4 separate regions of the Homo sapiens genome follow, and regions 2, 3 and 4 are each linked to region 1. The links are contacts of gene promoters, found by promoter capture Hi-C in human tissues and cell types (Jung and others, 2019). All regions are on one chromosome and are shown on one strand. Each heading gives the region's core, a stretch centred on a gene start or on the middle of the fragment in contact. The rest is flanking DNA. Distances are from core to core; before and after follow the strand shown. Region 1 holds the start of VDAC1 (voltage dependent anion channel 1). Region 2 has its middle 46 kb from the start of CTB-49A3.2. Region 3 has its middle 40 kb from the start of SAR1B. Region 4 overlaps FSTL4 (follistatin like 4).

Region 1 (5,199 bases), core at 1,826-4,325:
GAGTCAGGGATGGAGTCAGCTCCATGAAAGCTTGCTGACCAAAAGGAGAGGGAAACAGGGTCATTCGCCCAGAGAAAAACTGAGGTTAGGATTGTCCTGTCCCCACAAACCTCCTTCTCCACCCACCAAGATTTGACTGTCTTCGCCAGGGACTTGCTCTAGCTGGGTCAAGCTCAAGTGGGGTTATTGAAGTGGAACAGGGAAACCCACGCATGGCAAGAACAGGGGGGCACTCAAGGAACAGGGGCCCAGAGCCACCCTCTGCAGCGGCTGCTCCATTCTCTGTTCTGTGAAAAGCCCTCGTTAACTTCGCAACACCGACAGGGATGCCAGACCCAGGTCTCCCCAAGGGCCTTGAAAGCTCCCGCATTTTCCCCTCTGCCATACTCATCCCTGGGTTTCTCAGTTCAGGTTTGCAAGAGAGGATCTGATTGACCTGGCTTGGGTCAGGGGCCCAACCCTGACCCAATCAGCTGTGGCAGATGGAATGGAGGTGGGGCTCAGGGGGTTTCCCCTCTCCCTCAGGGTTGTGGTGGGTCAATGGATTCTAGTGATTATGGCACCTGCAGATCTCAGCTGATTTTGTTTTTTAAAAAATTACTAATACTATTTCTTGAGACGGGAACTTGCTCTGTGGTCCAGGCTGGAGTGCAGTAGTGGGATGCTAGCTCACTGCACCCTCGAACTCCTGGCCTCAAGCCATCCTACCTCCTTGGCCTCCCAAACAGTTGGGATTACCCACATGTGCCTCTGAGCCTGGCCCAGTTACTGATGAGTGCCTACTCTTTTTTCTTTTTTTTTTTTTTTGGCAGAGTTTCGCTCTTGTTGCCCAGACTGGAGTGTGATGGTGAGATCTTAGCTCACCGCAACCTCCGCCTCCTGGGTTCAAGCAATTCTCCTGCCTTAGCTTCACGAGTAGCTGGGATTATAGGCATGTGCCACCATGCCCGGCTAATTTTTGTATTTTTAGTAGAGACGGGGTTTCTCCATGTTGGTAAGGCTGGTCTCGAACTCCCGACCTCAGGTGATCCAGCCGCCTCAGCCTCCCAAAGTGCTGGGATTACAGGAGTGAGCCACTGCACGGGGCCGAGTGCCTACTCTTTATGTGTCCCATTTTAAACTTACACCAACACTCTGAAGCTGAGGCTCTTAGAGGCCAGCCTTCTTGCCTGGGTCACGCAGCCACTAAGTGAGTGGTTAATCTGAAACTAGCACCTAGGGGAGCTGGCGAAGGGGCCCAGGGTAGCAGAGGCCATGAAGAACTCTTTCCAAGTTGTTGTTTTTTTTTGTTTTTTTTTTTTGGGGGGGGGGGACAATGTCACTCTGTCAGTCAGGCTGGAGTACAGCGGCTCAATCTCAGCTGACTCCAGCCTCCTCCTTCCAAGTTCAAGCGATTCTCGTGCCTCAGCCTCCTGAGTAGCTGGGACTACAGGCGCGCGCCACCACGCCCGTCTAGTTTTTGTATTTTTAGTAGAGACAGGGTTTTGCCATGTTGCCCAGGCTGGTCTCGAAGTCCTGGCCTCAAGTGATCTGCCTGTCTCGGCCTCCCAAAGTACTAGGATTACAGGCTTGAGCCACTGCACCCGGCCCAGATTGGTTCTTTAAAGCGGAGTTGAGAGGTGGCGCTGGAGGGGAGGAAGCCCTTCGACATTTGCTCCCAGCCTCAAAACTGGGTTGCACCGGCATCTGTTCCTAGCCCTGTGGGGTTCCTGGAGCCCCGCCTTGTCCCGCCCGGCCTCCCTGAGTTCTTGTCCTCCCCCTGCCCACCAGTCTCAGTGTGCGGGGTGGGGACCACCAGGCTGGGAAGCCCAGAGTTCCCAGGCAACTCGTGCGCCTGGGAGGGTCATAGAATCCGTCCTACACTCCTCAGGATCTTGAAGGGGGCTCTTCCTTACATTCCCAGTCACCCCTCCCCCAGCCCCTACACAGGGCCTAGGTAACCTGTCTGCACCCCACTCCCACTCTGTATCAGCTGCCCTCTTCCTCAGCACCCTATCCCACTGGAGCACCTTTTCCAACTCCAGTCGCCACTTTTAATCTGCCGCCTTTTCCCAGCAGCCAGTCCTGATTGCCTCCTCCGTAGCCCCAGTTGCCCACTGCTTTAGATAGTGTCGCAGCTGGCTGTGAGGAGTGTCCTGATTCTGTAACCCGGCACCTCCTCCACAGGGCCCTAGACGCCTCAAGCCTTCCAGGACGTTTGTTGATCAAAGGCGAAGGATGTGTAGAATCTTCGTCCATCTACGAATTAATTCTCGAAACCTGCTTCGAGTGGGCCTCGCGCGTAACACAGGGGACACTCAGTGGTGAACGAGACCACTCGCTTAGGCCTAGCAGCGAGGTGACCGTTCACTCAACACACACTAACTGGGTCCCGCAGGACACGCCCCGGCTGGTCGCGGGGGTTACCCGGGGTGCCCTCAGTCGGCCGGCCGGCCATAACCGGCGTGATCTCCTCGCGCCGAGAGACCCAGCAGGGACCTCGCAAAACCCAATCCACGTTTTGTTTTATTTTGTCTTTTTGCCTCTCAAATGCATGGAAATTGGCTGCTAGTAGCTTTGCTACAGGAGAAAATCGCTAATCTGTAGTGCAAAATCGGCGCACAGGGGTTTTCTCTGAGATTGTCTAGACGCCGCGCGGGCGGGTCGGAGGCGCCAGACACATTGTATCCGGAGCGCGGAGCTCGGGAGCAACAGTCGCCGCCTCTACTCTGTATCTGCGCCGCCCCAGGCGCCCAGTGTCCGCGCTGGGCCTGGGACTGCCCTCGGGGGATGGGGCCCACGCGGGCTTTGATGGGGGGCCGGGGGCCACTTTGTCCACCCAGGCGAGGCTTGGGTCCAGCGCCGGCCACATCAACTCCCGGGGGATCTAGCAGCGCGGAGGCCAAGCAGGAGGCCCAGGAGCCCCGCGCGTCTTCCATTAGCGCAGGGACCTCCGGGCCACAGCTCAGAGAATCGGAAGGCCTCCTCCCCCTTCCCGAGCGCTGCCACTGGGGCCGAGGTTTCCAGCAAGAACCCGCGTGTCCCTGCGCACGCACACACGGTGCACACGTCAGTCCGGCGCCTCCCCGTGCCCCGACTCACGCAGGTCCTCCCGCGCGCCCGCAACACGCCCGCAGGCTCCTGTGTCTGCTGCCGGGGCAGCGGGGCCCGGAAGGGTAAGAACGCGGCTCGCTAGCGGGATGGGGACCCTGGCCCGGCCTGGACGCTGTCCCGGGCGGGGCCTGGGGGCGGAGCGCGCCGGGCCGGGCGCGCAGGAGGGGAGGCGGGTCCGCGCCGCCGCCGTCCGCGCCGCCCCGCCCTTGGCCCAGCCGCTCGCTCGGCTCCGCTCCCTGGCTCGGCTCCCTGCCTCCGCGTCGCAGCCCCCGCCGTAGCCGCCTCCGAGCCCGCCGCCACATCCTCTGAGGTAGGCGCAGCGGAAAAGGACCCCGGCTTCCTTGCGCCCTGGACGGCGGGGGCCAGGCCCCTGGGGAGCTGAGAGGGAGGCGCTGAGGGAGGAGCGGGCGAGGGGCCCCGGCAGCCCGGCCGCGGGGAGGGATCGCGAGCGGCCGGCGCGGGCCTGGCTGGTGAGCGGGCGGGCAGAGAAGGCCGCACAGGCGGGTGCCGAACAGGTCTGGGCTGGGGAGCGCGAGGCCGAGGGTCCAGAGACGCCTGCGGCTGGCGGCGAGAGGCGGCCCGGGCTTGCGGGCGGAAGTGCAAGGGCGGCCGCGTGGAGGCCCGGCGGGCCGCGCGTCTAGGTGACCTTCCCCGGCGGCGCCCTCTGGCCCTGGATCCCACCAGCGTGCATCCGGCGGGGACCCGTTCGCCGCCCACGCTCGCCGGACCAGGCCAGCGGGCGGGTGCCGGCCACGCTGCCGCCTCGGGGATGAGCTCACGTGACGACCGTGGCCCCGAGTCCCCAGGCCCACGCGCCCTGGCCGGCCCACGCCCGCAGAAGCTGGCGCCCGGCACCGCCCGCCTGTGCCAGAGCCTTCTAGAGCGGAACGCGCCGGCCGAGAGTCGACTTAGGCGGTAGAGGCCGGAGCTCGGGCCTGGGCTGAAGGTTTGGCCTCGGAAAAGGAGGCCCCACGGGGAAGGATGTGGCCTTCTTGGTCTTAGGAGTGATTACTGGTTCGGTCGTTCATTCATTCGCCAAATGCGGCGGTGCATTCTGGAAACTGTTTCGGAGCCTGACTTTGGATTAGAGGCCCGCAGTCTTAGTGGTTTGTACAAGGTCACACAGCTGGGAAGTCCCCATACCTTCGTTTTCTCATCTATAGGACGGGAGCAATTGTACCTCTCCTTCGATGAGTTTTGGGGAATAATAAAATGAATTAATTAGCATGAAACCTTTAGAACAGTGCCGGTGTGGAGAAGGGCTAAGTAGAAACCCTGACACCCTTGGGGCTTTTTGGGTGAATCCAGCCCATCCCCCGCAGACCATTTTGCTACACGTGGCGTTGTGGAAGGGGTTCAATAAATGTAGCTCCTGTTTTTAAACATTCTTTCACTATTATTGACAAGCATTTGTATACCAGGTATTGAGTAACTTTCAGCTTAATTTATGAAAAATCTTGTAAGTTTACAAATGGACATTGTCAAGCTGGAGCAGTAAGTTTGCATGTGGAGATCTTGAATGCAGGAGCAGACCCTGGTTTAGAGCCCGTTCCGCCCGGGGTCCCTGTCCCCTTGACTAGCCTCCCCTCTCCTGGGGAGATAGGGGAAAGGGCTCCTCTGTTGCCTAAACTTCTCCACTGAGGCAGGAGAAGGCCAGAGCAGACTACCGAGGGCCAGCCTTCATTCTGCCCACCCCAGCTCTGGACCAACTCAGCTCCTAAGGGTCAGACTGAGGCACTGAGGCCCTGTGCTACTTTGTCTTCAGTGCCTGGGGTGGTGCTGCCTGGCACACAGTAGGTGCTTGAGAAGGGTCTGTGGGGGTAAATGCACTCTTGTGTCAGAATCCACCCATCTTTACTGACAGAGTTTTACTATTCCAGTACATGGCCCATAGTAGGTGCTTATTGAGTATTTGTGGAATTATTGAATGGGCATATGAAGGGCTGCAGGCCCAGACCATAGTCCTTTGATCCTGGACTTTTTTTTTTTTTGAGACAGGGTCTTGCTCTGTTGCCAGGTCTGGAGCGCGGTGGCACCATAACGGCTCATGGCAGCTTCTGTTTCCTGGGTTCAGGCAATCCTCCCACCTCAGCCTCACAGAGTATC
Region 2 (5,199 bases), core at 1,560-4,059, 840 kb after region 1:
GTGGCATCCAGGGGCTGGAGGGAGTGCTAACGGGAAGTAGCTTAGCAGGTACACAGTTTCACTTTTGTAAGATGAAAAGAGTCTGGGAGAAAAATGGTGGTGATCTTTGCACAACATTATTAATGTATTTAATACCACTGAACTGTACATTTTAAAATGGTTAAGATGGTAAATTTTATGTTATGTATATTCCAACATATTTTTTAATTGGGGGAAAATTACCATGAATCCTGAAAAAAATTATTTCAAAATTTTAAAAAGGAAAGAAAAGAGAAAACATGATGAAGTTGCAGTTTCAAGATGATGAACTGAATCAAGGATAGTCTCCCACTCCTGCAACAAATCTATTCAAATACTGGGCAAAATTTTAATAATTACTATATACTCATGCTCAAAACAAGAAGGGACACTCTGGCTGACCACAAAATATGAGAAGTCCCTGAAAGACAAAAAAAAAAAAAAAAAAGCGGCAAAGGAATGCCATTGGCCAGGATAAGAAAGAAAGAAAGAAAAGAAAGAGGGAAAGGAGAGGAGAAAAGAAAAGGATGGTAAAACACAAGATGTTTCATGCTCACAGTAGAAACCCAGAGCTAGAGAAGGCTTGGGTCAGAGGTGACTGAATAGGGCAATTATCATAACAGGCAACAGACAGGCGCTAAAGGATTCTCCATTAAAAATAAGCGCACAATGACAGATCTCCAAACATTTGAGGACTGTCTACGCCATGAGGGAGAGACAAACTCACCAAACAGGAGAGCTCAAAGGAAACAGGGTCAATAGCGTGACTCGAACAGAATCTTTTACCATAAGAATATTTTATATACTTAGAAAAATATGGGAGGATACCACATCCATTAAGTAAAAAGAACAGGCAATGAAAAAAGAACCAGTCTCAATAAAAATTGAACTGTTGATATTAAGAAGATAATAAAAGCGCTGAGTTGCAGAATTAACACATCTAAAGAATGAATCAGAGGCCCAGAGCTCTTCCAGAAATGGTCACCAAAGAATAGAATGATAGAAACTACACAAGAAAATTAGCAAAGGAAAAGAAGAAGGAAGAAAAATAAACACCTCCCATAACAGAAGATAGACATGTGTCTGCAGAATGAAAGGGCCCACTAAATGCCAAAATAAATAAATCACACACACCCAGCCCTACTAGGCATGAAAACTCATTATAAGGCTTCTATGGTTAAGACAGTAGAGTACTGTGCATGACTAGACAGATTAATGGAACAGAAGAGAAAACTCAGAAATAAGAACATTTAGTTTACATTAGGGCAGTATCTCAAATCAGTGGGGAAAGATAGGCTTTAGGGATAAAATGGAGTTGGTGCGCTAGGATAGTCATGGAGAAGAAGATAAAACTGGGTCCATCCTTTAACCCAAACCCTGGAATAAATGCCAAACAGATCAGAGGCCTAAAAGTTAAAAACTGAAACCATACAAGTACTAGAAAAAAACACAGGTGAATATCCAACATCATGATTGGGAGAGAACGTTCCTTCATATAATTTAAAATCTAGAAGCTGTTAAAGTTAAAAAAAAAATCATAAATTCGACTACAACTACAACCAAGTCAAACTTCTATATAGCAAAAAATCAATTGCTCCTATATATTAGCACTAACCAGTTTTATAGTAGGAAAGGAAAGATATCAGTACCATAATGTGCCTTGGCATACACCTGATAAGAAATGTGCAAGAAATAGTATAACTGTAAGACTTAACTGAACAATAATGAAAATGACCCGGAGAGAGAAACCATTTTCGAGAACAGTAAGATTTTTTATAATAACATTTTCAGCTCCCTTCCAATAATCTAAACATTCAATGCAAACACAATCCCAATACCAAAACAAGATTTGCAAGGACTTGCATAAGGTGATTCTAAAATGCACACGAAAATGTAAATATGTGAACGTAGTAAATAACTGTTTTGAAATGAAAAGAGGAGAACTTGCCCTACCAAGTATCAAAACATGTTATGAAACTACAGGTATTAATATTGTTTGGTTTTAGAGTAAGGAGAGATGGACCAAAGAAATGTAATTGAGAGCTCAGAAATGGGTTCATGTGTAGATAGCATCATTTCAAGTCAGTGGGAGAAAACTGGATGTGTTAATAATGGTATTGAGGCAACTGACTCTCTATTTTTGAATAAAATTATGCCCCTACACACTATTCTCAAAATTAAATTCCAGATAGATGAAAGAACCTAAATATTCCAAAAAGTGAAAGCTTTGAAGACAATATAAAGTTTGAGAAAATCTTCTTAAATCACAAACAGGCCAAGTGTAGTGGCTCATACCTGTAATCCCAGTGCTTTGGGAGGCTGTGGCAGGAGGATCTCTTGAGGCCAGGAGTTCAAGACCAGCCTGGGCAATACAGTGAGACCCCCCACCTCTACAGAAAACTTTAAAAATTAGGCAGGGCGTGGTGGCTCGCACCAGCACTTTGGGAGGCCAAGGCAGGTGGATCACCTGAGGTTAGGAGTTCGAGATCAGCCTGACATGGTGGAGTTTGAGACCACCAACATGGTGAAACACTGCCTCTACTAAAAATTCAAAAATTAGCCAGCCATGGTGGCACACACCTGTAATCCCAGCTTCTCAGGAGACTGAGACAGGAGAATCGCTTGAACCCAGGAGGCGGAGGTTACAGTGAGCCAAGATAGTGCCACTGCACTCCAGCCTGGGTGACAGAGCGAGACTCTGTCTCAAAAAAAAAAAAAAAATTAGCTGGTTGTGGTGATGGGTGCCTATAGTCCTACCTCCTCCAGAGGCTGAGATGGAGGGATCGCCTGAGACTAGGATTCAAGTGAGCCATGATCAGGCCACTGCTCTCTAGCCTGTGTAACAGAATGAGACCCTGTCACTAGAAACATACATAATAATCACAAACAGATGTATATAAAGAAAAAATAATAAAGTTGACTAAATCAAAATGTAAAATTTTGGCAAAAAACAACATAAGCAACACAAAAAGTCATGTTACACACTGGAAAATATGTATGTATCATACACATAACTAGGTATCCAGTCTATATGAAGATCTCCCAGGAAAAAAGAGAACCCAACGGGAAAGTGGATAGACAGGCAATTCATTAGAGGAAAAACACCATAGACAATAATGTGAAAGTATGTTCCATGTTCCTTGCCTCTTCCAGCTCCTGGTGGTACTGGTATTTCTTGGCTTGTGGCTGCATCATGCCAACCTCTGCCTCTGTGGCCACATTGCCTTCTCCTCTTCTACTGTGTGGTACCTCCCTCTGCCTCCTTCTCATGAGGATACTTATGATTACACTGGAGGCACACCCAAATAATTCAGGATAATTTCACCTCAATTATATATCTTGCCATATAAAATCCATCCTTTAGGTAATATCCACAGGTTCCAGGAATAATGATGTGGTTATCTTTGGGGTGGTGCATTATTTAACCTAGCACAAACTGGTTCACCCAGTTTTCTAGGTGTAGGGTAAGGTTAATAATAAAAACTATCCAAAAGAGTTATGATAATTGAATTAGTTAATACACTTAGAACAGTGCCTGGCACATAGTAACTGTTGGAGAAATAGTAGCTGCTACTACTAGTAGTAACAGTAGTGAAGAATATTTTAGACAAGACACAAAAATTTCAAACCATTAAAAAATTAATTTTTAAAATTCAACTCCATTAAACTCAAATTATCTGTATAATAAAGAACACTACAAACAAAGAAGTTAAACTTCAGAATGGAAGAAGATATTTGCAACACACCAACAAAAGATTAGTGTCTATAATATATAAAGAATTTCTACAAATCAGTAAGAAAAAGACAACCCTAAAAATGTGGAAAAGATCTAAACAGATAATTCACAGAAAGAAAACCTAAATGGCCAAGAAATATGAAGCAATGTTTAACCTAACTAATAATCAGAAAAGTAAATTTAAAATTGCAGTGAGATACCATTTCACATCTATCATGTTGGCAAATCACGAAAAACTAACTATGAACCAATTATTGGCAGGATGGAAAGCAGTGCTGAGAGTATAAATGGTTAAACTGATTCAGCAATCAGTCCAAGCAGAATGTTCATAAACATTTGTATCACATTTTATCAAACCTAAAGCAACACTGATTACAAGATGCATTGTTATTCTACATACTAAGAATAAAACTTCCAAATACTTGTAAGGTATCATAATAATATCAGAGATGATAAAATGAGGGGGGGAAAGTACATCTCAGACTGTATAAAGTAATAGTGAAAAAATTAGAAATAACCTAAATGTTCGTTCATCACAGAAATGGCTCAGTAAAATGCACTATACATTTGTACTATGAAATTCTTGTAGCAGTTAAAAGAAATTTATCAAAGAAAAGATATTACTAAGTGAAAATAGCAAGATGCAGAATCATATACAGTTAATATTTATGTGCACACACACCCAAGAAATCACACCAAAATTTTTTAAATTACCTTTTATGATAGATGGATTGCATTAAAGCCTCAATTTTTCATATTTCCCTGAATCCATGCCCTCTTGCACTGCCTGCCCATACTAACACTGGGCTTAGCTATGTATTTGCTTTGGCCAATGGAGCAATAGAAAACTTGGCATAAGCAGAAGCTTGAATGAACACTTGGTATTGCCTTATAGTTCTTGTCCCTGAAGAAAGGGAACCTAGGAGTCTTTAAAACATGTCTGACATACCCAGAGCAGCAGTGGTTAAGTCTAAAAAAGAAAGCTCTCAAAAAATTATGGGTGTGGCTTTTGACAAATGGCATTAAATGCAATGAGAAGCCTAGAAAACCCACAATGTTTTTGAGGATGTTCCATTGTCATAAATGCCCCCAGTCTGAGTAGAAATTATTCAAAATGAAAAAAAGGTCTGTGGACAGGAAGAAGGCTGAGAAGGACATTGCTTAAAGGGCACATCTTGTCTTCAGAAGTGGCCAAGGAGGATAATGGAAAAAGGAGGACACCTCAAAGGGTGAAGCCAAGGGCCTTGGAAAATAGTGGATTTGAAAACTTCATAGAAACCAGAAGCCCTCTTTCAAAAAAAAAAAAGAAAAGAAAAGAAAAGAAAGCCACTCTGAGTGAGCAGAATTGGGTGTTAATCAAGGGATATTCACCACCCCTGTGGTAAGGGGTATCTGCAAGTGAAGTTCTTCCCAAAACAGGGGAACCTGACAATGTTTTCCAAGCT
Region 3 (5,199 bases), core at 1,849-4,348, 590 kb before region 1:
CTTGAATCCTCTGGCACTCGGGTGGCAGTGGAGCCCCTCTTGGATTTACTCAATCTGCCTTCCTCCTTGGAAAAGTGATATCTTGACCCTTCTGATGACCTGGGACTGGGTGGCCTTTTTGCCCACTCCTTATGACAGTGCTGGGCTGGACAAAATAAGGGGCAAGGTCCCTACTCACAAGATTGTCTCTTTTCTCTCTTTCTCTCACACACACAAAACCTTACATAAGGGAAATGATTGGTTATCACCAGGGACTTAACCAATTGTGCTGAAGTGTTAGATTCTGGCTTGGGTGCTTGGTCTCACTTTCTGTCTGCCTGCCTTTTAGTCAGCCACTCAGCAGGCACTTCCTGAACACCTGCCTGCTGGTGGCTGGCATGGCATAAAGAAAATGTGCAGAGATCTGCCCAAGACAGAATGGAAGGCAAAAGGAGAAGGCTTCCACACATTATGGAGGAGGTTTATAGAAAGGGGGCACCAGAGCTGAATCTCGGAGTACAAACTGGTTTAGTGGAGAAGGGGCAAGAGGGGATATTCCAAGCAGAGAGACCAGCAAAGACAAAGGTGTGGAGGCAGGAAAGAGCACACAATGACTTGGGAGCTGGTAGAGCTCAGTGCCTGAAGAGGTGTCACGTGGAGAGTGTCCTAGAAGGAGGCGAGAGTGGAGGGTAAGACCACAGAGCATGAGGCCTGAACTATCTAACACCAATTCCAACACCAACAATTTTATGACATATGGCCATGTTTTCCAAGCCAAGGTAGAAGCCAGTGATCCCCCAGGATAGTCTGCTTATGGGGCCATCAGATCAGGATAGACTATTTGAAGTTGAGACCATCTGGACAGACATGTGTCCTCAAAATGCCAAAATGACTGTTGAGCATGTGTACCAAAATGTGTGGTACTGATGATGGGGAAGATTAAACACAAGATGAAGCTGTTGAAACAGCAGGCACTGCTGCCTACGCACAAAAAGCCTGGCTGGGCCCTGGGGGTGGAGATGGGGACTCACTGTAGAGAGCTAGGAGCGGGGAGCCGAGACAGCACCCCTCCCCTCTCTGACACTTCTCTGACACTCTGACCTCCGCCAGGTGCAGTGGTTCATGCCTGTATTCCCAGCACTTTGCGAGGCTGAGGCAGCAGGATCGCTCGAGTCCATGAGGTCAAGGCTGTGGTGAGTTATGATTGCACCACTGCACTCCAGCCTGGACAACAGAGTGAGATCAGTCTCAAAAAAAAAAAAAAAAAAAAAAAAAAAAGAAGGCGGCCAGGCACAGTGGCTCACACCTGTAATCCCAGCACTCTGGGAGGCTGAGGCGGGTGGATCACTTGAGGTGAGGAGTTCAACACCAGCCTGGCCAACATGGTGAGACCCCGTCTCTACTAAAATACAAAAATTAGCTGGGCATGGTGTCACATGCCTGTAGTCCCAGCTACTTGGGAGGCTGAGGCAGGAGAATGGCTTGAACCTGGGAAGCGGAAGTTGCAGTGAGCTGAGATCACGCCATTGCTCTCCAGCCTGGGTGACAGAGCAAGACTCCGTCTTAAAAAAAAAAAAAAGAAAGAAAAAGAAGAAGGCTGGGTGCAGTGGCTCACACATGTAACCCCAGCACTTTGGGAGGCCAAATTTGGGGGAGCACTTGAAGCCAGAAGTTCAAGACCAGCCTGGGCAACATAGCAAGACTTCATCTCTACCAAAAAAAAAAAAAAAAGCTGGGCATAGTGATGCATACCTGTGGTCCCAGCTACTGAGAAGGCTGAGGCAGGAGGATTACTTGAGCCTGAGAGGTAGAGGCTGCAGTGAGCCATGGTCATGCCAGTTCACTCCAGCCTGGGCAACAAAGCAAGACCCTGTCTCAAAAAAACATAAAGCAAAACAAAAAAACCTCTGACCTGGGACTGTCTTTGCCTGAACAGTGGAGCAGTATGGTGGTTTCATCCATTAAGCAGAAGTGTAATGGATGAAGAAGGGAGAATACCCTGTGTTTTAATCCCCTAGGAAAGTACTGAACTTGAAAAATCAAGTGGGCAGAGTAGCTTAACTGTCATGAAATAGTCCAAAGACTGCCCAGTGAAAGTGAATTGGACTTCATCTATGACTCCAGGACTCAAGAGGACCTGTGAATAGAAATGTCAGGTGTCAAAGAGACATTACAATTGAATTTAAGAGAGACCTTTTTAACACAGCTGTGGGTTGCCTTTCAAATGATGGGCTGTTGTTGGAATTCAAACAGTCTCTCCTAGAGAGGGGAACTCCATGGGATAGTGATTGGATGAAATGAGCTCTCACACTCTCCCCAAACTCAGAGGTCCTACAAACCACATGAGGCTTTTCAGATGAGGGCCATGAAGGAGTTAAAATTGACGGGGCAAGTTAGTGCCAATCCCATGCCCTTTCTTGACTGGATGGAAGTATTCCTGGAGGGGAGAGGAATCCCTAAGATTTACTCTCTTCTTGAGAGTCCCCTCTGATCCCCGATGCCTCTACGGGGGCATGTCTACTTCTCCTGTGACATTGGCTCACTTGAGACTCTTTTTTTTTGGGACAGGGTCTCACTCTGCCACCCAGGCTGGGGTACAGTGGTATGATCACAGCTCACTGCAGCCTCCTGGACTCAGACTATCCTCCCACCTCAGCTTCCTGAGTAGCTGGGACTACAGATGCCCACCACCACACCCAGCTAATTTTGTATCTTTTTGTGGAGATGGGGTTTTGCCAGGTTGCCCAGGCTTCACTTGTGACTCTTACCTGGATGTGGCAGAGATAAGGCCCATCCATCAGACCTCCCTCCCAAGCCTCCTAGGATGCTACTTCAGTAAGGAATGGGCATGAATATTCCAGCTGGCATTTAGGGAGCAATGCTTTGATACCAAGCAACAGGCACTAGAACCAGGCAGGCTCCCAGAGTCCCAAAATAGCAGTTCAGAGTACCCACAGGTGAAAGTTTATTTTGCTGAGTCACTTTTCCTCCTTGGCTTCTACAAACCCTTGGCTGTTCTTCTGAGTTTCATGTTAATCACAACATTCAATCCCTAGCAATGGAATGTTCCTTTTTTGCAAAAGGGGTGAGGTGAGGGCACAGGAGGGATGTCCTATTCAACTACCTCTAGCCTCTCGGGTTACAAGCTTTCAGGTGTGAAGGATGATCACAGAGCTGACAAGGGGCCTGAGTAACCCACAAGGCTGGGGAGCTGTGTGGTTTTTTGGCCCAGGCAGCTGACTGTCAGATATGTGACTGAAGCGGCTTCTCTGACCATCAGCTGTTTGCAACCAGCCCCCATCTAGGGGCTGCACCGGGCCAGTCCCTAGAGTGGAACTGACCCCAGACCACCGTTGGGCTTAGGGAGGCCCGTGAAAACTTGTAAACAAACAGGGTTTACCGGCTCAGAATCCGGGAAGTGAGAGTTGGTAAACAAATCCCTCTGGCCTCCTTGCCTCTGGTCAGTCAGCAAGTCTGTGAGTGCTCTCCTGTACCACTGTGTCCTGCCCTCCTCTAACACCTTTTGTGGCTCCTCATTTTGTCCACTTCATACCCATGTCCTCTTTGAGCCTCTCAGCCACCCTGCATGGTGGGCCCAGCAGGAGCTCTCATCCTTATTAACAAATGAGGAAACTAAGGGCCAGAATGCAGGTCAATAATTTTCCATTACCCCAAGGACAACAAAATTCCATTTCTAGCAGCTTCCTCTTTCGTGGTGGATTCATGGATAAATTCTCTAGACTTGAATGGCCACATGTTGCTTAATGTTCATTGAGAATGGAGGGAAGTGGCCGGGAGCAGTGGCTCATGCCTGTAATCCCAGCACTTTGGGAGGCTGAGGTGGGCGGATCACCTAAAGTCAGGAGTTTGAGAATGGAGGGAAGAATAAGGGGGACCACCCACTAAATACAAACCTCTAGACCCGAGGCAACCCACTTGAGCATTATCCCAAAGACAGAGGCCTCCATCCCTATCAGGGAGGCCTAGGCCCCCTTCCAAGCCTGAGGAGGGATGCCTCCTCTTCTCTTCCAGTGCCTCTAGGCCCTGCTCCATGCTTCACCGTGTCACTATCCCAGCCCGACCTGGCATCTCACCCCATGACCACGCCCATGACTAATCCTGTGCTCCTAATGGCACACTCACCTGGTGACAGATGAGTCAGCCGCCACAATGGTGTTCTGATGGTGCAAAGGTGACAAGCTGAGTGGATAAAGCTTCTTCCTTCTCTCCTCTGCCCAAGTTGTGTATGGAGGCTCACCCAGCCCCATCTGCCAGCTAGCCCCACCTCACCCAGCTGGCCTCAAGTTAAAGGGCCCTGGTGAGATAGGAGAATAGGGAATTAGGGTCACCAAGGATCAAGGCATAAGCAAAAGAACAGCAGGTGCAGCCACTTCTAGGCAAGATTAGGCAGCATACAGGCCACATCCTCACTCCTGTGATAACAAGACAGAAATTTCCACTTCAGCCTCTGATTGACCACGGGCCAAGTATCCACTTCAGCCTCTGATTAGTTGCTGGCCAATCTGTCATAGGGTATAACCAACTGGAGGCCTTTAAAGGGTACCTAGGAGTGTTACCAAATTCTTTTTTTGTTTTTGAGACAGAATCTTGTCCTATCACCCAGGCTGGATTGCAGTGGCTTGATCTCCACTCACTGCAAACTCTGCCTCCTGGGTTCAAGCAATCCTCCCATCTCAGCCTCCAGAGTAACTGGGACCACAGGCACACCACCATGCTCAACTAATTTTTTCTTTCTTTCTTTCTCTCTCTCTTTTTTTTTTTTTTAGTAGAGACTGGGTTTTACCATGTTGGCCAGGCTGGTCTCGAACTCCTGGCCTCAAGTGATCCACCCGCCTGGGTCTCCCAAAGTGCTGGGATTACAGGCGTGAGCTCTAATCCACCAGCCACCAAATTCTTTTAGTTTAATAAGAACCCTAAAGAACATTGCAATGGGGCTCTGGAGCTGCTTGCTCGAGCCTGCTCCCACTCTGTGGAGTGTACTTCCACTTCAGTAAATCACCTTCATTGCTTCTTTCGTTGCTTTGTTCTTTTGTTTCTTTGTGTGTTTTGTTCAATTCTTCGTTCAGTGCGTAAGAACCTGGACAACTCACAGTCAAGACCTTCCATCCGGTAACACTGGAAAGCTTTCCCTTGCCCTCTGACCACAGCCCCTCCCCACAGGAGATGGACTTCAGAGGTCACAGATATCCCCCAACCTCT
Region 4 (5,199 bases), core at 974-3,473, 580 kb after region 1:
GCACACCTGAGGTATTGTTATTCACACATTACTTGTGACCTCCCAACTCACACAAGTTGATATCTGGGTATAGAGTGTGATTTTTCTCCCATTAGGGACTCCAGAAGAGTTCTTGAAATAGCTGCCTCCCCAGCTCCACCTCTCACCCCTTGTGCCTGCCCAATGTTTCCAGAAGGCGCAACTATAGACAGCAAAGGTCCTGTGTGCACCTCCCCAGAGAAACCCAAACCCTCACACTTCTCTGGAGCCACATGGCCAGATGAAACCTCTGAGAAGGAACCAAAGCCTTGTCTGTCCTGATGGCAGAAGTTGCAACCCTGTAGGGCTTCTCAACATGTGATCTAAGACCACAGCTTTGTAACCTAACTCAGCCACGGTCCTAGTTAAAAAGGCACATTCCTAGACCCTGCCTCAGAACTACTGAACAGAGTCACTGGGTGTGGAGTCCAGGAATCTGCATTTTTACCCCTATCGCCCCCGCCATTCCCGCCCTTCCCCCCGCCATTGCGTGCACTAATTGCTGGAAGCACTCATGAGGAGAGCCGCCTGTGTTGTGTAGAACTCCCACCCCCGCAACACACACTCACTCACCCTTTCACTTACCAACAGTTTCCTGGGCTTGGGAGGTCTGGAGAAGGCAGTAGCCCTGCAAATTGAGAAAGGCAAGCCTCGGAAGTGGACTCTTATATCTCTACTGCCAAAAGGGGCTACATCCTCTCAGGCCCCTGGGTTCATTCCTTGAGAACAGGGCTCAGCTGTGGGAGCTGATAAAACAAGGCACCCTTCCAGTTACTGAGCACCTTCTGGTGGCCCACACTGTGCTGGGCATTGCACATGAGCCGTCTCTCGTCCTTGGGGAAGATAGTAGTTGTTATCCATGCTCTATAGGTGTGGAAACTGAGGCCCAGAGAGGTTATGTGGCTGGTCCAAGGTCACACAGCTGAAGTGAGATTGTAACCCAGGGCTGCCTGACTCCAGAGCCTGTGTGTTCTCCAGTGGTGACATTGCTGGGGTAGTCTTGGGGGGCAGTGTGAGCTAGTTCATAGGATGGAAGAGTACTGTGAGGAATGTTGGGGTATTTCAAGGTTTGATAAACCAAAATTCCTCTGGGCCGTTGGGCATTTGAGAGACGGAACACTGAGAACATAAGACATGCTGAGATTTAGGTTGTTTTAGAACCTGAAATCTCAGCTTACTCCTCCCAGAACTTGTGCTGACTTTCGGAAAAAGGAAACATTTTAGCCTGGTTTGGGTTCTGGATTGCAGTAGCAGTGGTGTTTGCTAAACTAAAGAAGGGAACTGGAGCTTCTATCAGTGCATTATTAAAGCAGAACTGGCTGACTGTCTCCCTGGGAAATAACAGGACTGAGGCTTGTGCCTCCAGCCAGAGATTGCTCCTCCATAGCCCCCATTGCCACCGCTTCTACTACTTTTGCCTCCACTCCCCAGCCACCCAGTGATCCACCCTGCCAGAATGCACAATGCCGGCATTGATCATTCCCCAACCCACGGTACAGTTCAGTTTCCTCTGCTGCTAATTGGCCATGAGAGCTCCGTTATGAGGGATCAGAATTGTTAGTCTCTTCCTAATGATCTCTGTCTGGAGACCAACTTCATGACATTCTCCAATTAGGGAGTGCGGAGGGGGCAGGGCAGCGCTATTCATCTGCCCAGAACCCCCATGAAGTGACATGGGCTCATTATGCAGGAGACCCAAGCCACTGGTCCTGCGGGTCAGCACAGCCCAGGAGAGCCACGGAGGCAGGTCTCCCCCTCTCACCTCCCCAGACTCCCGGCTATCCTTTGCTCCCTGTGTCCTCCCTTCATGGCAAAGACTTTCCTTTGGTCAGGCTTGAAGGACAACACTCTGTCTTCTGCTAGCACACTCTGTGCTTTAAAAATTCCTAACTGGGAAAGATGACTTCTTTTGAGATCAAAGGCACACTCTCAGGGATGTTGGGGCAATGAGGAAGGTGAAAGCTACAGAGGAAGTCAAGACTGGTCCACTTCCAGCTCCCCATATGTGGAAGAAGAGAAGACCAAGGCCAAGAGAGAAGGGTCTTGCTCAGGGGGGGTCCCCAGCACTTAGACAGGAAGACTAGAGCCCCCCACGTCATTCCTGCTTCCCTTCTCCTCACCCTAACTTCAAATGCAGGCTCTTTATCCTATGTCCCTGTTCTCCCTTTGGACCCAGCCAGCTTCTGGATTTCTTCCGCCACTTGGCTTATCGTGCAGTGGACAAACCACACGGCTACACTTGACAGCCAGAAACTGGATCATAAGCTTTGAGGGCAGGATCCATATCTCCCTTATTCTCTGCTGTGTCCCAGGACCTAGCATCTCACCCACAGTAGGAACACAGAATTATTCAATGAGTGAATTAATTAATTAATGCTTTAACTTTAAAGTTCAAATGTAGAGTTTCAGAGAGGAACCCAGAAGGGCTATTCAAAGAAATGAATATCCAACAGTGGAAATTCAGATATTACAGAGTCTTGGGAGGTCAGTTGGGCATTAATTCTTTCCTCACAAGAGTCTGCTAATTACTTTTCCAGGTTTTCTGCTGAACAATTTGAACTCACATTCGACATAGCTTTCCCTTTTGTCTCTTTCTTAATATCTCAGCACAACTCCTGCTGTGGGGCATTGTTAAACCTCAGGCCTGGAGGGTTTGGCGATGCGCGGTTAACAGCTTTGCCACCTGGGGATGGCATTATCTCTGCCAGCCTCTAGCTGACTTGCTCTGGGTCTCCTGCTGGGAGACAAGACCAGGCTGGGACAGGCCATTCAAACAGCTTGAGAGCAGCTCTTAAGACAAACCTCGGACTTAGCTAAGGTACCTTTTTTTTTAGGTCACTTTGAAGAAATCTTAATGTTAAAAAGATTTACAAACTAAAAACTTTATAATAAAGTGTTGTCAAAAATCTGTAACAAAATCTACATCAAGTCCTTATGGTGTCTGGAACATAATAAATGTGCAATACATGTGAGCCCGTAGATCTTTTCTATCAATACTCACTTGAAATAGATTAATCCACAGTCTAATAGTTAGACCCAGTCTGATGCGCATAAGAAATGTTGCTATATCTTTTGTTTTGTTTTTACAGATTTTCTTTTGATTAGGTTATCTATTTGATGGGAAGGGAGGAAAGGCCTAGCATTTTCTGCACCCACTGTGCACCAGGAACCATGCTAAGTGCCTTACATTTCACTATGGCATGTGCTTCTCTCTATGGGCTTCAGGGAAAGGCTTATTCTCCCATTTTCCAGATGGGAGAATTAGACTCAAGATCTCAAGATCGTTAGACTCCAAAGCCAGTACTCTCTCCTTTACGTGGTATTTAGAAGTGAGCCCAGCTATGGGAATGCTGCCTAGTGACCACATGGTCACTGCCAGCTTCCCTGTCCAGACCAGCCTTCCCTTGGCCTGAGATGTGCCATAGTGCCTCTCAGAGGACACCATCACGTATTCCTGTAGTGCTTGAGTGTCACCAACCTGGAGACGCCGTGGGACAGCACAACCAGGGAAGTCGTAGAGAACCCAGGTGCCCCTGGACATTCTAAAGACCATCATCTGAGAGACTGCTCGGAAATGCAAAGCTCACAAAACATGTCATTTCCTGTCTCTAAGGTATTGAATACAAATATCATCTCCTTTTATCTCCCATCTCCAAAACAGTCCCCTCGGGTTGTGTCTCTCTCAAGTGCTCTGTAAACTTCCCAAATTGTCAGCCGGTCCCAGGAGATGCTTCCATCACACTGGGTGATCATCTCATGATAACTTCCGAACTGGCCTCCTGCACTGTTCACGGGTCTGGGTGGTTACCCGCGCAGCAGAATCACTCAGCAAACGCTTGGATGTGCACTGACTTTGAACGGCTAGAAAGTTCAGGGGCACCACCTGCCTCGGAGCTGCTGCATGACTCGGGTCTGAGGTGTCCCCTGAAATCTTGGGGACAGGCACTTCTTCTGCTGGCGTCAGACAGAATGTGGTCTCCCCACAGGGAGCCCAGTCCGATTCTGCAGAGCCCGGCTCGGCCCTGCTGGTCTGCGGGTGCCCTTTGCCCTCGTGCACACAGCGACACCTGGTGGTAAGCTGGTGAACCGCCGGGACCCCAGCGCTGTTCCTCAGCTCCATGCTGGGCTCCAGCTCACGTGCGCTGTGTGCACCGAGGGACTTGTCCTGGCACGTGCACACCCAGTCTTGTGCACCACCGAGTACTCCGTTGTGACAAAGTTATACTCAGTTATGTATGTCTTCTTCCTGCTCTGTGCAGAGAGCAGTCCCGTGGCCTCAGTCATGAGTCATTTGTCTGTACTCATTCTCAGAGGGGAAGAAAATGAGCTGTTTCTAACTACGTCTATCGTCACCACCCCGATCGCCATCCTTACTGCCATCAACCACCACCATCCCTGCCGTCACCACTACCATTGCCTCCACCACCGTTAGCCATCACCACCGCCTCACCGCCATCATCCCCACCACCCCTCGATGACCACAGCCACCTTTGTGCCTTTACTACTGTCACCCCATGCACTCTGTCGCTCCTGTAGCAGGGGCTAACTCCTCACATAGCAGCAGAATTGGGCAGCCCTGCCCGCTGAGGTTCCAGGAGGGAGGCTGAGGGCCTCTTCCACAGAGAGTGCTGTGAAAGGCTCTTGGAAGGAGGGCAGGAAGGACCCAAGAGAGCAAGGCAGAGGGAGGATGGGCCTTCTCCAGCTCCTAGCTGGCAGACAGGACAGCACGAGGTACCGCCTGGATGCATTTAGGACTGAAGTTTCTGCTGATGTCAACGAATGCTGGAAATGTCCCAAGACCCCAGTTCAGGACTGCGCCTCATCCAGGTGAGCAGTGCAGAGCAGTCAAAAGGGGCCAGGAAACAAGCCGCCCATTCATTCGTGCAGTCCAAGAACAAAGCCAGCGGGCCAGCTCCAACCTGTTGTGACAGAAATACCAGGGGATCTTTTCTTTTTCTTTCCATTTCCCCCAGGCAGCAACTGTACAAATGAAACTTCAAAACTAGAGCTCGGCCGTTCAGAGCCTGCACAGCACTGACCTGTTTCTTGTTCATTTAGCCTCATTCTCTCAGAAGACAGAAAGCCTCATTCATCAGAACAATCACTTCAGCCCAGAGGGGCTTGGGTGTTGTTTCTAAGACATTACAACTTGCAGCCATAAAGGAAAAATGAAATAAACGT

What was found. The method cuts DNA at HindIII sites, captures the fragments that hold promoters and counts their contacts. A contact is called where the count stands out against the background at its distance.
Region 2: a fragment that was not itself captured here is called in contact with the fragment with the promoter of VDAC1 in region 1 in 1 of the 25 tissues and cell types used here (dorsolateral prefrontal cortex).
Region 3: a contact is called between a fragment that was not itself captured here and the fragment with the promoter of VDAC1 in region 1, in 1 of the 25 tissues and cell types used here (thymus).
Region 4: a contact is called between a fragment that was not itself captured here and the fragment with the promoter of VDAC1 in region 1, in 1 of the 25 tissues and cell types used here (aorta).

The regions. Positions count from the first base shown.
Region 1 is chr5:134,002,851-134,008,049 of GRCh38, reverse strand. It overlaps VDAC1 (voltage dependent anion channel 1), which reads left to right and starts at 3,075. Exons shown (of 9, transcript NM_003374.3): 1 at 3,075-3,155. RefSeq lists enhancers at 2,232-2,301, 2,342-2,401, 2,472-2,591, 4,242-4,291, 4,302-4,351 and silencers at 2,762-2,811, 2,852-2,911, 2,972-4,011. The HindIII fragment of the contact is 12,628 bases long and covers 1-5,199 here.
Region 2 is chr5:133,159,782-133,164,980 of GRCh38, reverse strand. No RefSeq gene overlaps it. Among named protein-coding and RNA genes, the nearest start is that of CTB-49A3.2, 46 kb to the left of the region's middle. The HindIII fragment of the contact is 5,969 bases long and covers 1-5,199 here.
Region 3 is chr5:134,590,393-134,595,591 of GRCh38, reverse strand. No RefSeq gene overlaps it. Among named protein-coding and RNA genes, the nearest start is that of SAR1B, 40 kb to the left of the region's middle. RefSeq lists enhancers at 429-498, 974-1,113, 2,580-3,173, 3,994-4,053. The HindIII fragment of the contact is 7,095 bases long and covers 1-5,199 here.
Region 4 is chr5:133,422,879-133,428,077 of GRCh38, reverse strand. All of the region lies in intron 3 of FSTL4 (follistatin like 4), which reads left to right. It overlaps MIR1289-2 (microRNA 1289-2), which reads left to right and starts at 372; the gene lies at 372-482. RefSeq lists enhancers at 3,927-4,221, 4,312-4,361. The HindIII fragment of the contact is 7,315 bases long and covers 1-5,199 here.